2 separate regions of the Homo sapiens genome follow, and region 1 is linked to region 2. Evidence: promoter capture Hi-C in human tissues and cell types (Jung and others, 2019). All regions are on one chromosome and are shown on one strand. The core of a region is centred on a gene start or on the middle of the fragment in contact, and the rest is flanking DNA. Distances in the headings are between cores, read along the strand shown.

Region 1 (6,469 bases), core at 3,317-5,816, 680 kb after region 2:
CATCATTGCCATGTGCTGGCAGCCTGCTTGCTTCAAGGGTTTTATCTGCAAGTTTATGCATATGCTGTTTGCCAACTGTCCACCCTGAGAATGATTTCCAAGCTACTGAAGGGGATAGGGAAGTTTAAGTACATATCTCTCATTTGCTCTCATAGGAAAAAATGACAAGCCATTTATTGTCCAGATAAATGACCAAATTAGCACATCAGCACAATTCAATGAAATAAATTCCAGCTAGAACCAGCTGTAAATTTAATAGATCTTTTAATATATAGCATGCAGGGAAAAAAATCCCTTCCGGTGCCATTTATATAATTATCAGTCATTACTTCTCCTTCTACAGTAATATATTTTTCTGTCTACTTTCTTAAATGCACGATTCTTATGTAGTAAACACTCATGAGAAATATGACTTTTTAACCAGGTGGAGACAGCAACAGCAGAGTGGACCTTGTTGTGTATGTGCCAGCCATTAAATAGGGCTTTGAGCCACATTTTTATAAAACATCCAAAGATCATATTGCAAGACGTTTTTCAGATATTATGAAATTTAACATAGAATGGGGTTGACCTGAGTTTGTTTGTTTGTTTTTTTCTGAGACAGAGTCTCGCTCCGTCACCCAGGCTGGAGTGCAGTGGCATGATCTTGGCTCACTGCAACCTCTGCCTCCCAGGTTCAAGAGATTCTTCTGCCTCAGCCTCCTGAGTACCTGGGACTACAGGCACGCACCAGCATACCTGGCTAATTTTTGTATTTTTAGTAGAGATGGGGTTTCACCATGCTGGCCAGGCTGGTCTCAAACTCCCGACCTCAGGTGATCCACCCGCCTCGGCCTCCCAAAGTACTGGGATTACAGTATGAGCCACCGCACCCGCTGGCTTGAGCTTTTTAATCATTAAAATAGCATATATTAAAGATTATTTAATATTGAAACCCATGAGTCAGTTTAACTGTTGCAACTAAAAGGACTTTTGCTTTGGTTTTTAAAGCAATCAGTATGAATTGCTAATCTGTTAAAAATTTAAAACTTGTGGAAGATAATAAAGATAGCTTGGAAATATCATCTGGAAATACACTGGTGAGAACAGCCCTGAGGAGTTTTCAATGATGTTCTGGATACATGCAGTAAACTAAAAGACAGAGTTGGAGTTTCTTTAGTTCTGGAGTTTTCTGCACCAGGGGAGCCTTATGACATCTGCCCCCATCATTAAAGAGACCCCAGTGTGGAAATGGGTAATGGAGCTCTATACTTAGTAAAGCAAATGTGAATCAGGGAGTGAAATCTTTTATGATCACTTCTGATTATCCTACCTTATCTGGAAATACTGACACGATTACATCCAGAGCCGGCCATTATTAGGATCTGCAGACAGTGGCTTGGAACTAAAGCTGCAGTGCCTAGGCACACCACGAACCTTGTCTTTGCCATTATCTTTCCAGACAGAATGTAATGTGACATGCAGTTTCTGGGGCTTCCTTCCAGGTAGGAAAATGAATTGAGTCACACTAACATAGGATCTAATGAGGGGATGTAAGATTCTTGCCTTGTCAGAGCTATTAGTATAGGGGGAAAGACTGAAGCATTTACAAGTAAATTATTTTATTACTTACAGAATTCCTATCTAAAAGTCTTCCCAAGCTTATGATTTTGTACCAAAATTGTTTCTTTTTCTTATAATTTATTTTCTATTTGTGTATCTTTTTATAACCTATTTTTGTTTAACTAATATCACCCTATACTTCTCACATTAGTCAAGTTTATATTCAGTTCCAAAACATATCTAAAGTTTTGTATGAAAGGAACTTCTGTTTCTGGCCATGATGGAATAACAGGGCCCACATTTAAACACTTATAATACAGTGAAAAACATATGAAACAATGTTGTTCAGACATCAGACAATAGGAAGCACAGGACAGTGGCCCCTGAAAAGAAGAAAACAAAGTTAGCCTTAAGATTTTTCCAGCATGGAAAAAGTTTCCAAGCTGCAGCATAGGAGGAGAAAACCCAAACAGCTGGCCATCCTCTTGAGTGGAGGAAACAGGGATGAGAAATGAAGGAAGCCCAGGTGCCTAGAATTTAGGGGAAAGACTATCAGAGTGGTGAGAACTGTATAGAGAGAAGAGAGTCATTCAGAAAGAAAGCTTCAGCGGCCTTCAGAGGGTTTCCCTCAGTCTTCAGCTGAGGACCACTCAGTGCACATGTGTGAGGAAACTACTAGAGGCTGTGGGGAAAAACCCACCAGAAATGAGCCACGAGAGCAATCCTTGGGGCTCACACAAGGCTGGAAAAATTTGTTCCCACCAGCTGGAGTGGAAAAATTTCATAATACATGAGCATCAAGCAAAGTACTCAGAAGACCATTTTCTCATTACTAACAAGCAAAATGAGCTCTAGATTAATTAAGCTTAAAAGTAAGCCTCAAATGGATCAAACTGTATTTAAGTTACTTAAGTCTATCCCAGGATTAAATTTAAGAATATTTAAAGGAATACAGAAATATCCAGTACACAGCAAGGTCAAATTCATGATATTTGACATATAATTAAAAAATTAGCAGCATGCAAAGAAGCCAAAAAATATGACTCATAATGAAGATAAAAATAAATTAGTAGAAACAGATCCCAAAATAAGTTACTGTAATTATTTTCTGTATGTTCAAGAAGGTAAAGGAAAGGACAGCTATGGGAAATATAAAAATGACTCAAAATTTCTATACATGGAAACTATAATGTCCAGGTTAAAAAACATGTACACTGGATGGAGTTAATGGAATATTAGACATGCAAAATAAAAGAGATTAGTGAACTTGAAAACACAGCAATACAAGTTATACAAAATGAAACATAGAGAAAATAAATCACTAAAGCATCGGTGAGCTTAGGGACAACTTTGAACGATCAAATATACATGGACTTGGAATCCCCCAGAACCAGGGCTGGTGGGTATGGAAGATATGTTTGAAGAGATGAAAGTTAAGTTTTCCAAATTTGATGGAAAGTATAAACCCATAGATTCTATAAGTTCAACAAACCTCAAGCATAAGAAACAACAATGGAGCTGGGCATGGTGGCTCATGCCTGTAATCCCAGCAGTTTGGGAGGCTGAGGCACTCGGATCATTAGGTCAGGAGTTTGAGACCAGCCTGTCCAACACGGTGAAACCCCGTCTCTACTAAAAATACAAAAATTAGCTGGGCATGGTGGCGTGGACCTGTAGTCCCAGCTACTCAGGAGGCTGAGGCAGGAGAATCACTTGGACCCAGGAGGTGGAGATTGCAGTGAGCCAAGATCACACTACTGCACTCCAGTCTGGGCGACAGAGCAAGACTCTGTCTCAAAAAAAAAAAAAAAAAAAAAGAAACAACAATGTACATCATAATAAAATTACCTAAAACCTGTAATAAAGAGAAATCTTAAAATAAGCCAGAAAAGAAATACTACATATGAGGGAACAACAATAAGAATGACAATAGATTTCCCCTTGGAAACAATGTGGGCCAGAAGACAGTGAAACTATCTTTAAAGTACGGAAAGAAAAAACTATCAACTTAGAATTCTGCACTCAGAGAAAAAAATATTTTGAAAATGAAATAGACATTTTCAGACATATAGAAGCTGAAATCACTCATCACCAGCAAACTTGTGCTATTAGAAATATTTTAGGTAGACAGAAAATGATACCAAATGGAAATCTTGATCTATAAAATAGTAGGAAGAGCACTAGAAATAGTAAATGTGTAGATAAATATAGCATAATTTCCCCTTTATTTAAAAAGTCCCTTTAAAAGTAATTGTTATTTACACAGATCAATTGAAGTAAAAGGATGGTAAAAAGATAGGCCATGCTAACCACTAATCAATAGGAAGCCTATAGAAGCAATAGTAGCTATTATCTATTAATGTCAGAAAAAATAGATTTCAGAGAAAAGAATATTAGTAGGCATAAAAAAGACTACTTTATAAGGACAAAGGGATGAGTAAATTAGAATGAAACAACAATCTAAACTGTTTATGAACCTAATAACAGAGTTTCACGATACTTGAAACAAAAACTGATAGGACTGAAAAAAAAAAAGCAGAAAGGTAAAAAGTGTTTCTCTGGTTATGAAGCTTAGCTTAAAACATACTTTTACTGAATTAACTCATACTGCTAAAAATTTGCTAATATTTGTCTAAGTAAATAATGTATTCAAGAAAAAGCCACTTCCATAAGCTATACTACCTTCTCATTAGCTGCCAAATCAAGGCCAGTGTGAGAGTGCGGTTTCCTTCATTGAGATCTTGTCCACCGATGCCAACCAGGGAGAACTTCGCTTGATTCTTCCCCAATTCTACCGCGTAGTTACAATTCTCAAGCTGAATGAGCAGAAAGGAAAACGATTTAACGTCATCATCTTGATTATGATAAATACCAGATAAATAATAAAAATAAAGATAAAAAATGAAATAAATATGGTAAGACCGAATGACCTCTCAAGTCTCAACTGGTTCTGCAATTCTAGGATTCAAAATTAAAGAATTTTCCATCTGTCCTTAGAACCCCTCACTTTCATAAAAAATATTCATAATGTGGAAAACTGAAATGAATTCATTACTATGAATATGTTCACAGCTATATCACACTGCAGAAATGGAGAGCCATCCTTAATTACCTACATGTAATATTTCTAAAAAAGGTGAATTCATGGAGATTGACATGGAAAATTTGGAGTCTCCATCCTCTGCACACATAGCAAATGGACATGTGAACAGATATTCCTGTAGCTACGCATGGATCATTAACAGTCACGGCAATAAGAAATGCTGAGAAATGGCTGTGTCAACCCTGTTGTTTCAAAACAATGTTCCCACTGTGTTGACAGTCGACAAACTGTTTGAACAAGTCAAGCTGTCAGTACAAGCTCCAATTCTTTAGAAATTAGAATAAAGATCCTGCTGAGGGAAAAATCCCTGTGGCTCTCTGCTTGCTCTAATTATCTTAATTAGAATTTTTGCATGATAATGTTTGAAGACATCCAACATGGAATTATAAATAAGCAATTGACTGAAATAATGGACACACTTTAATAAAGCTGTTCAGGTTTCTGATTGCTGTACTAGAATTTAATTTCTGGAAAAACATTACTTGTCTACGTTTGGCTGCCTTATAAAGTATTTAGAGTGCTCTTGCAGGCTATGACTTTGCCTGTCTCCTGGAACAACAGAACCATCATTGTTTACCTTCTTCATATTGCCTCCCAGTTTGGGGTATGGCGGTTTGTTTACTCTGTTCCAGTCAACAGGAACTTTGATCTTTTCATAGAGCTGGAAGATGACCAGGGCATCTGATAAGTCACTGAACAAAACAAACACAAAAGGATTCTCAGATATCCAACATTTATTCAGGGCCTACAATGGGCCAGACACTTTCTTACATATTAGTTCAAAGAATATTCACAACAACCCTGCACACTTGGTAGTCGTAGCTCCATCTATAGAGGTGAAGAAACCATGACTCAGAGAGATTGGGGGACTCACTCTTCCCAGGTGTGACTAGCTATGCCCTTCCATCCAACATATGCTGCCTCAGGAAAAGAAAGAGCACTATGGTGACGAAATAATCTGTACACCAAACCCCTGCAACATGCAATTAACCTATATAACAAACCTGCACATGTCCCCTGTACCTAAAGGTTTACAATTTGTAAAACTAAATAAATGTAAAAGAAATATTTAGAACGGGCGCAGTGGCTCACGCCTGTAATCCCAGCACTTTGGGAGACCAAGGCGGGTGGATCATGAGGTCAAGAGATCAAGACCATCCTGGCCAACAAGGTGGAACCCCGTCTCTACTAAAAATACAAAAAATTAGCCAGGCATGGTGGCAGGTGCCTGAAGTCCAAACTACTTGGGAGGCTGAGGCAGGAGAATGGCGTGAACCCGGGAGGCAGAGCTTGCAGTGAGCCGAGATTGCGCCACCGCACTCCAGCCTGGGCGACAGAGCGAGACTCCATCTCAAAAAAAAAGAAATATTGAAAAAAAAAAGAAGAAAATTGCTTTAACAAGTGGCATAGGAGACACTTCACCACAAACTTAACATCTGTTGTTTTGCCTGCTTGTGAGCGGGTTATATGTAAGATCACTTATGACATATAGTAAATGTTTCATTTTGTTGAGGTATGATTTATATATTGAGCACACAGTGAGACTGATGTATGCAGGTGAGTTTTTCAACTGAATATCCAACATCTGAAGCTCAACTTGGCACTTTTTCCCCTTCCAGCAAGGTATGCACATTTTGTGAAGAGAATGCACATCATAGTGGTATTTGGAATCCTATGGCTCTTTTGAGGTCTCTATCTTACATTAGAATGAGTTCCCAAATATTCCTACCTGTACAAATGATTGACTCGAGGGTTAACACCCAGGGAGTTCATCCAGTTCCTAAATGTCCGCTCTTCTCTCGTCTCACCTAGATGAATGAAGAT
Region 2 (6,620 bases), core at 1,318-3,817:
TTTTTTTTTTTTTTGAGACAGAGTCTCGCTCTGTTGCCCAGCCTGGAGTATAGTGGCACAATCTCAGCTCACTGCAAGATCCGCCTCCCGGGTTCATGCCATTCTCCTTCCTCAGCCTCCCGAGTAGCTGGGACTACAGGTGCCTGCCACCACGCCCGGCTAATTTTTGGTATTTTTAGTAGAGACTGGGTTTTACCATGTTAGCCAGGATGGTCTCGATCTCCTGACCCCATGATCCGCCCGCCTCAGCCTTCCAAAGTGCTGGGATTACAGGCGTGAGCAACCACACCCAGCCTCATTTCAACTCTTAAAACTATATTCATGCATATTCTGGATCACCAACATGACAGTTTTATAGTTTAGGATTACCACATGATTTCAGCTTCCACCCTCCTTGTTTGTGCATATAGAATATTTTTAATAAAGCTACTAAAAACAGCAGGGTTGTTTTAATATGCAAATGATATATACAAGCCAGATAAAGGAAAAATGGTATTAGGGATTTACCCTGAGTCAAGTGTTCCCAGTAGTTCAAATGGTGGGGAACACAGCATGCTGCTGGTATAACAGAAGTGTGATGAACTCCCAAGCAGCTGTATAGCAGTAGTCAGGACTGTCTTCGTGTTGCCAGAAGCAATTTCGTTTTCCAGCAAAATAATATCCCACATCTCACTTGAGTTGTTAATGTGAATGTTATTGGTTATATACCGTTATATGTTAGTTATATTTCTGTTGGCATGTAACTTGCATGTCTATTTTGGTATAAACATCCAAAGCTTATGTCAAGTCTTATTTTTGTTCATACTTAAGCAATATAATACAATTATTTACATCAACATTGGGGATCTGCAGATTTTTTAAGGGCTTTGTACAGCAGGCAACTTGGAGAAGCTGTGGTATATAAAGGGTGTCAGACACAGTCAGGATATCTAAGTTCCAGTGGTGACGCTGATGTTAACCACCTGATTGCAGGATGTTAGGCTGCTTGCTTCACCTCTACGGGTTGTAGTTTGCTCCTCTGTAGACAGAAAGGGCTTGATTATATGATTTTAAAATTCTCTTCCAACTTCAAATTCTATTCTTTTTTTTTTTGAGACAGAGTTTAGCTCTTGTTGCCCAGGCTGGAGTGCAATGGTGCAACGTTGGCTCACAGCAACCTCCGCCTCCTGGGTTCAAGCGATTCTCCTGCCTCAGCCTCCCGAGTAGCTGGGATTACAGGCATGCACCTCCACGCGCAGCTAAGTTTTTTTGTATTTTTAGTAGAGACGGGATTTCTCCATGTTGATCAGGCTGGTCTCGAACTCCCGACCTCAGGTAATCCGCCCACCTCGGCTTCCCAGAGTGCTGGGATTACAGGTGTGAGCCACTGCGCCCGGTCTCAAATTCTGCTCTTAAAAGATCAGAGCCTTCATTTGGGAACATAGCCAGGCACTGATTTGTGCTATAAAGCCTGAATAAAGCCTTCAGACTTTACCCAGACAATGGTCAAAATTGCTACGAAGCTGTTTCCACCTGCCTTGACTCCAGGGAGGAGCAGGAAGAGGCCTCCATAACTTGTAGAAGATTGTCTGTTCTCCACCATTTATTTATTCAATCGTTTATTTATAGCAGTATGGACTCATGGGTATTTATTTTATTCTGTAAATTATGATCCAATACTATCATTATTTATTTTGTTGCTCAAATCTACAATATGATTTAAATGGTAGAGTAGAATTACATGTCTGTACCACAAATTATTATTATTATACATTTTGAGACAGTCTCACTTGATGCCCAGGCCGGAATGCAGTGGCAAGATCTCTGCTCACTGCAACGTCCACCTTCCAGGTTCAGGAGATTCTCCTGCCTCAGCCTCTCAGGCTGATTACTGGCATGTGCCACCACGCCTGGCTAATTTTTGTGCTTTTAGTAGAGACGGGGTTCAACCATGTTGGCCAGTCTGGTCTCAAACTCCTGACCTCAGGTGATACGCCCACCTCGGTCTCCCAAAGTGCTGAGATTACAGGCCTGAGCCCCCGCGCCTGGTCTGTGCCACAAATTCTTGATCCAGTTCTTCAATGTTGGACATTTAGGTTGTCTCCAGTTATTTGATACCATTAATGATGTCTGAGATACACACATCTTTGAATTTTTTATGTGTTTCCGTAAATTAGTTTTCTAGTAGGGGAATTACTGGATGTTGGAAAAGTTTATGCTTTTGGTTTTGATCCAAGAGGCATAAATTGTCAACATGCCAACATGGAAATCATACACTCCACACATTCTACCCAGACTACCCAGCTGTAAGCAGAGAGGTGTAGATCCAAGTCTCCTGCCGGCAGGGTGATTTAGCGCAGTTGTCAATAATCTGTACAACACGTAACAATAAAGTTATTGATGTTGAGGAAAAGACTTCCGGTAGGGGCATTTCTATTTCCATTGGGTCCTGTCTTCTCCACCTTCTACGTTTCAACCGGAAATAGTCGTACCCATTTAAAGCCACGTCGGTACTGGCCTCGGTCCCGCCCCCCACACTGCGGAACCGTTTCCGGGGTCAGGGCATTCCGTCCCGCCCCGCCGCCGGTGCAGTGTTGGAAGCTCCGGTTCTCCCGGAAGTGGCCCAGGTCTCTCTGTCGGGGTCCCCTCCATCTCGCTGCTGCTGAAGGCCGCGAGGGCGGCGGCGATGGCGGAGGCGGCGCTGTTGCTGCTGCCTGAGGCGGCGGCGGAGCGGGACGCTAGGGAAAAGCTGGCTCTCTGGGATCGGAGACCGGACACGACGGCGCCGCTGACCGACAGGCAGACGGACTCGGTATTGGAGCTGAAGGCGGCGGCAGAGAACTTGCCGGTGCCAGCTGAGGTGAGGTGATGGGCAGGAACCGGGCCGGGGCGATGGGGCTGGGATTCTCCTCGGGCGCCCCGGCAGGACCCCGGCCTCACTAGCCTCTGCCCAGGATATCTCTCCACTCCTCCCTGGCCATGGTGGCGGATCCGGTGGGAGGGGCCTCATCTCCCAGGCTGTCAGGCTTCGCTCTGCCTGCGACCCCGACTCTAATTCTGCCTGGGGACGGCTGTGGGGGTGTCCTGCAGCTGGTGCTCGCCGGAACCCAGTCCTCCCCCAGCAGCATGGGACGGTTGGCCCGGAGCCTTGCACCGAACGTTTTGCCCCAGACGAGGCGTCCTGTCAGCCGAGGCGTAATCCTGCTGCCCACTCTCTCCCAGAAGGAGAGGCAGTCAACCCGAGGTGCTGTGCTGCAGGACAGTCTCCAGCGCGTGCTCGTTTACCGCCTTAATGATTCACCTAGGTTGCTTTGTCCATGGGGGTCTTGGGGAGACCAAAACTTGGTCCTGAGTGAGTTTCATTTATCGCACATTGAACTATGAGCTCTCAATCAAGTGCAAGTTATGGGAGATCAGATTTATTTCACCTATTGCAAAGCAATAAAAATGAATTTTATTTGAAAGTTGGCTCAGTACATTATTAAGCAGTGCTGGTTTTCGGTGTTAGAGTCAATGTGTTTAATCCACTTACCATTAGGATATTATGCACTACTGCTTCTTGTGTGATTCAATTCAATTAGTTGTAATAGCAGGAAGTAACATGAATTGTCAGATGTTTGACAAACGTTTTCCAGTTTTGAGGGCCAGGTTTAGGAGGATTATTTTATATAAGCAGTGGTGATGGTTACTTTTGATGTTGGAAGCATTCTTTTCTCTCGCTCTGTCGCCCAGGCTGGAGTGCAGTGGCGTGACCTCGGCTCACTGCAACCTCCACCTCCCGGGTTCAAGCGATTCTCCTGTCTCAGCCTCCCGAGTAGCTGGGATCACAGGTGCCTGCCACTACACCCGGCTAATTTTTTGTATTTTTAGTAGAGATGGGGTTTCGCCCTGTTGTCCAGGCTGTTCTCGAACTCCTGACCTCAAGTGATCTGCCCGCCTCGGCCTCCGAAAATGCTGGGATTACAGTCGTGAGCCACCGTGCCTGGCCTGAAGCATTCTTTTTATACGATTTGGAATTGTGTCCAAATGCAGATTGAGTTTAGAGTCTTCAACTTTTTCTGTCCTCCAACTTTAGAGATTTGATTTAAACGTTCTCTTCACATTCACTGTTGTATGCTCAGCCATCAAATAGGCGTTCTTTCTTGGGTTTCTTTTTCCACCTCTAGGATATGGTACCGGAAGTGGATCTGAAATCAATGAAGGCGCAGGTGGAAATTTCTTTGGCTCAGCTATCAAACTCTTTTATACCCTGGATAATAAAAGTTGTTTGCTCTATAAATTTTCCAGTCTGTTTATAATTGATTTGGCTCCTACTGCAGCAGGATGCTTGGACTTAATAGCACTGAGGGTGTGATGGGGGAGATACATATTCTACAAAAAAATTTGTTTTCATTGTCATGGGTCATAAACTATTATTTCTTATTCTCATTGAGCATGAAGGAGAACGTTTGGAATGAACTAAATGGAATCTTTCATTTTCACCCCATTCTTCCATATTTATCATTAGCCACATGCAGTCTTTAACATATGTTATGTCCCTACTCTGAGTTAGGTATTGAAGATAGAAAGATAAATAGGAAAGATGAGATCCTTAGCCTCATAGAGCTGACATAATTGTGGGGATCATGAACATGGAAAAAAAGAACAAAGAAGGTATGTTCAGATGGTGGTCCATAATATAAGGAAAATCAGATAGGATGGTGTGACAGAAAAGGATGAGGTGTGCCCTTTTAGAGAAAGAGGGAAGACCTTTCCAAGGAAGTGACAGCCTGAGGTGAGAACTGATGATGGACTACCTGAAGCTAGCCTCATAAAGACTAAAGAAATAACATTGCAGCTGGAAGAAAGAACAGCATAAGGTCATGGGTAGAGGATGAGCTTAATGAGTTCAAGAATTCAGTGAGGGTCTTCTGGTACGTGCAGCTTGGTATTGGATTCCTGTGAGAATGCAATAGCTGAGGCCAGGTGCGGTGGCCCACGCCTGTAATTTCAGCACTTTGGGAGGCTAAGGCGGGAGAATCACTTGAGGTCAGGAGTTCAAGACCAGCCTGGCCAACATGGCGAAACACCATCTCTACTAAAAATATAAAAATTAGCTGGGTGTGGTGGTGCATGCCTGTAATCCCAGGTACTTGGGAGGCTGAGGCATGAGAATCACTTGAACCCAGAAGGCAGAGATTGCCCTGAGCCGAGATTGCACCACTGCGCTCCAGCCTGGGTGGGTGACAGGCAAGATTCTGTCTCAAAAAGAATGCAGTAGCCGAGCTGGTTATGCACACATCCTGGAATCTTTGAGAAGGCAGTTCTCATTGCTCTTCAGCTTTACAGCCCTCATTTTCCTTTTCTGAAGTGTTTATATGTCTGTTGGGAAGACTTTGGAATTAATTTTTTTAGCCCTATACTACTCTTTTAACATTGGCAGCAAAAGAGAGTGCCACAATTTTCATTTTGTCCAATCAGTATAACTCAAGGATTTTCTGTAGTGTTTCACAATTTTCACGAGATAAATTACTTCCTGAACAACTGGAACTGAGCAGGCTAGTAGAATAGCAAGAGGCCAACTAACTCTTAAGTACATATCATAAAGATGTTAACTTCTTTAGAAAATAGCTTTCTCTTTTATGAAAGAGAACTAGTCTTATCTTAAAAAGGAATTATGCCTTTTTTGGCATTAGAGAAAATAATTTACAATAGAATATTAGGTAGACTTTTGTAGCCAGGGCAAACTTAGTAGTGAGGGGCCTATTTCTTTCTGTTGAATTTAGTAATTCTTGATAAAGTGCTAAAATAATTTACCCCGACATTTACCTATAATTTACTGTTACAGCTGTTGTTTTCTTGTAGGCTGTGTGACCTTAGATGTGATGTTTATCTTTTCTAAGCCTTAATTTTCTTCTTTATAAAATGGGGACTTAACTCATGATGAGTACTTATCTCATAGGGAATTGTGAGAATTATGTGAAATCACGTATGCAAGGTGCACGTGGCAAGTTACTTGCTATTATTCTTGTGCTTTCTTTCAAATTATTAACATCTTAAAAGAATAGATTAGAATCCTGTGATGCTGAGCTGGTATAGGTGTCATTCAGACCAAAGGTAAGAAAAGGAGAGGTTAAGTGCCTTGAGGAAGGTTCTGAGACTCCACCTATACCTCTTCAGTAATTTGCTCCAAGCAGAGAACAAAACATCAGGTTTCATTTAGGGAATTAATTGATCAGATTGATTATAAAAGTGGTTTTCTCCAACCCAGAACTCTGCAAGAAGTAAAGCTTGGGAGAGAAAGGTATGTTACTTGTTATTTCAGGGACCTGCTCAGCTGGTCAGGCAAAGCTTGAGAATTTATTGTACTTACTATTTAATGTTAGTGTCTCCATTTGCATAAACTATACAGTAGCTCTGCAGCACTGGCCCATTAGCAATCTAGAACTGTGTTCTCTCTCTAGTGGTGTCTGTCTGCTCCATCTGGAAGCCAGGACAGTGCTGGTAAGCAGCAGGCATTCAGTCACCTCCTCCTGAGAAGTGAATGAGAGGTCAGAACAGGAAAGTGTGTGATACCACCACACCCCTTTTTGACTTGTCATTCTATACCAGGTGTTTTGAGAAAGGAAGGCAGCTGCCTAGTCTACTTAATGGGGGCATTT

Evidence for each region. The method cuts DNA at HindIII sites, captures the fragments that hold promoters and counts their contacts. A contact is called where the count stands out against the background at its distance.
Region 1: a fragment that was not itself captured here is called in contact with the fragment with the promoter of COG3 in region 2 in 2 of the 25 tissues and cell types used here (dorsolateral prefrontal cortex and hippocampus).

What each region holds. Positions count from the first base shown.
Region 1 is chr13:46,138,068-46,144,536 of GRCh38, forward strand. It overlaps LCP1 (lymphocyte cytosolic protein 1), which reads right to left. Exons shown (of 16, transcript NM_002298.5): 11 at 6,375-6,453; 12 at 5,223-5,337; 13 at 4,225-4,358. Among named protein-coding and RNA genes, the nearest start is that of CPB2, 36 kb to the left of the region's middle. The HindIII fragment of the contact is 5,349 bases long and covers 1,893-6,469 here.
Region 2 is chr13:45,462,372-45,468,991 of GRCh38, forward strand. COG3 (component of oligomeric golgi complex 3) reads left to right here and starts at 2,568. Exons shown (of 23, transcript NM_031431.4): 1 at 2,568-2,839. The coding sequence starts at 2,666. The HindIII fragment of the contact is 8,447 bases long and covers 1-6,620 here.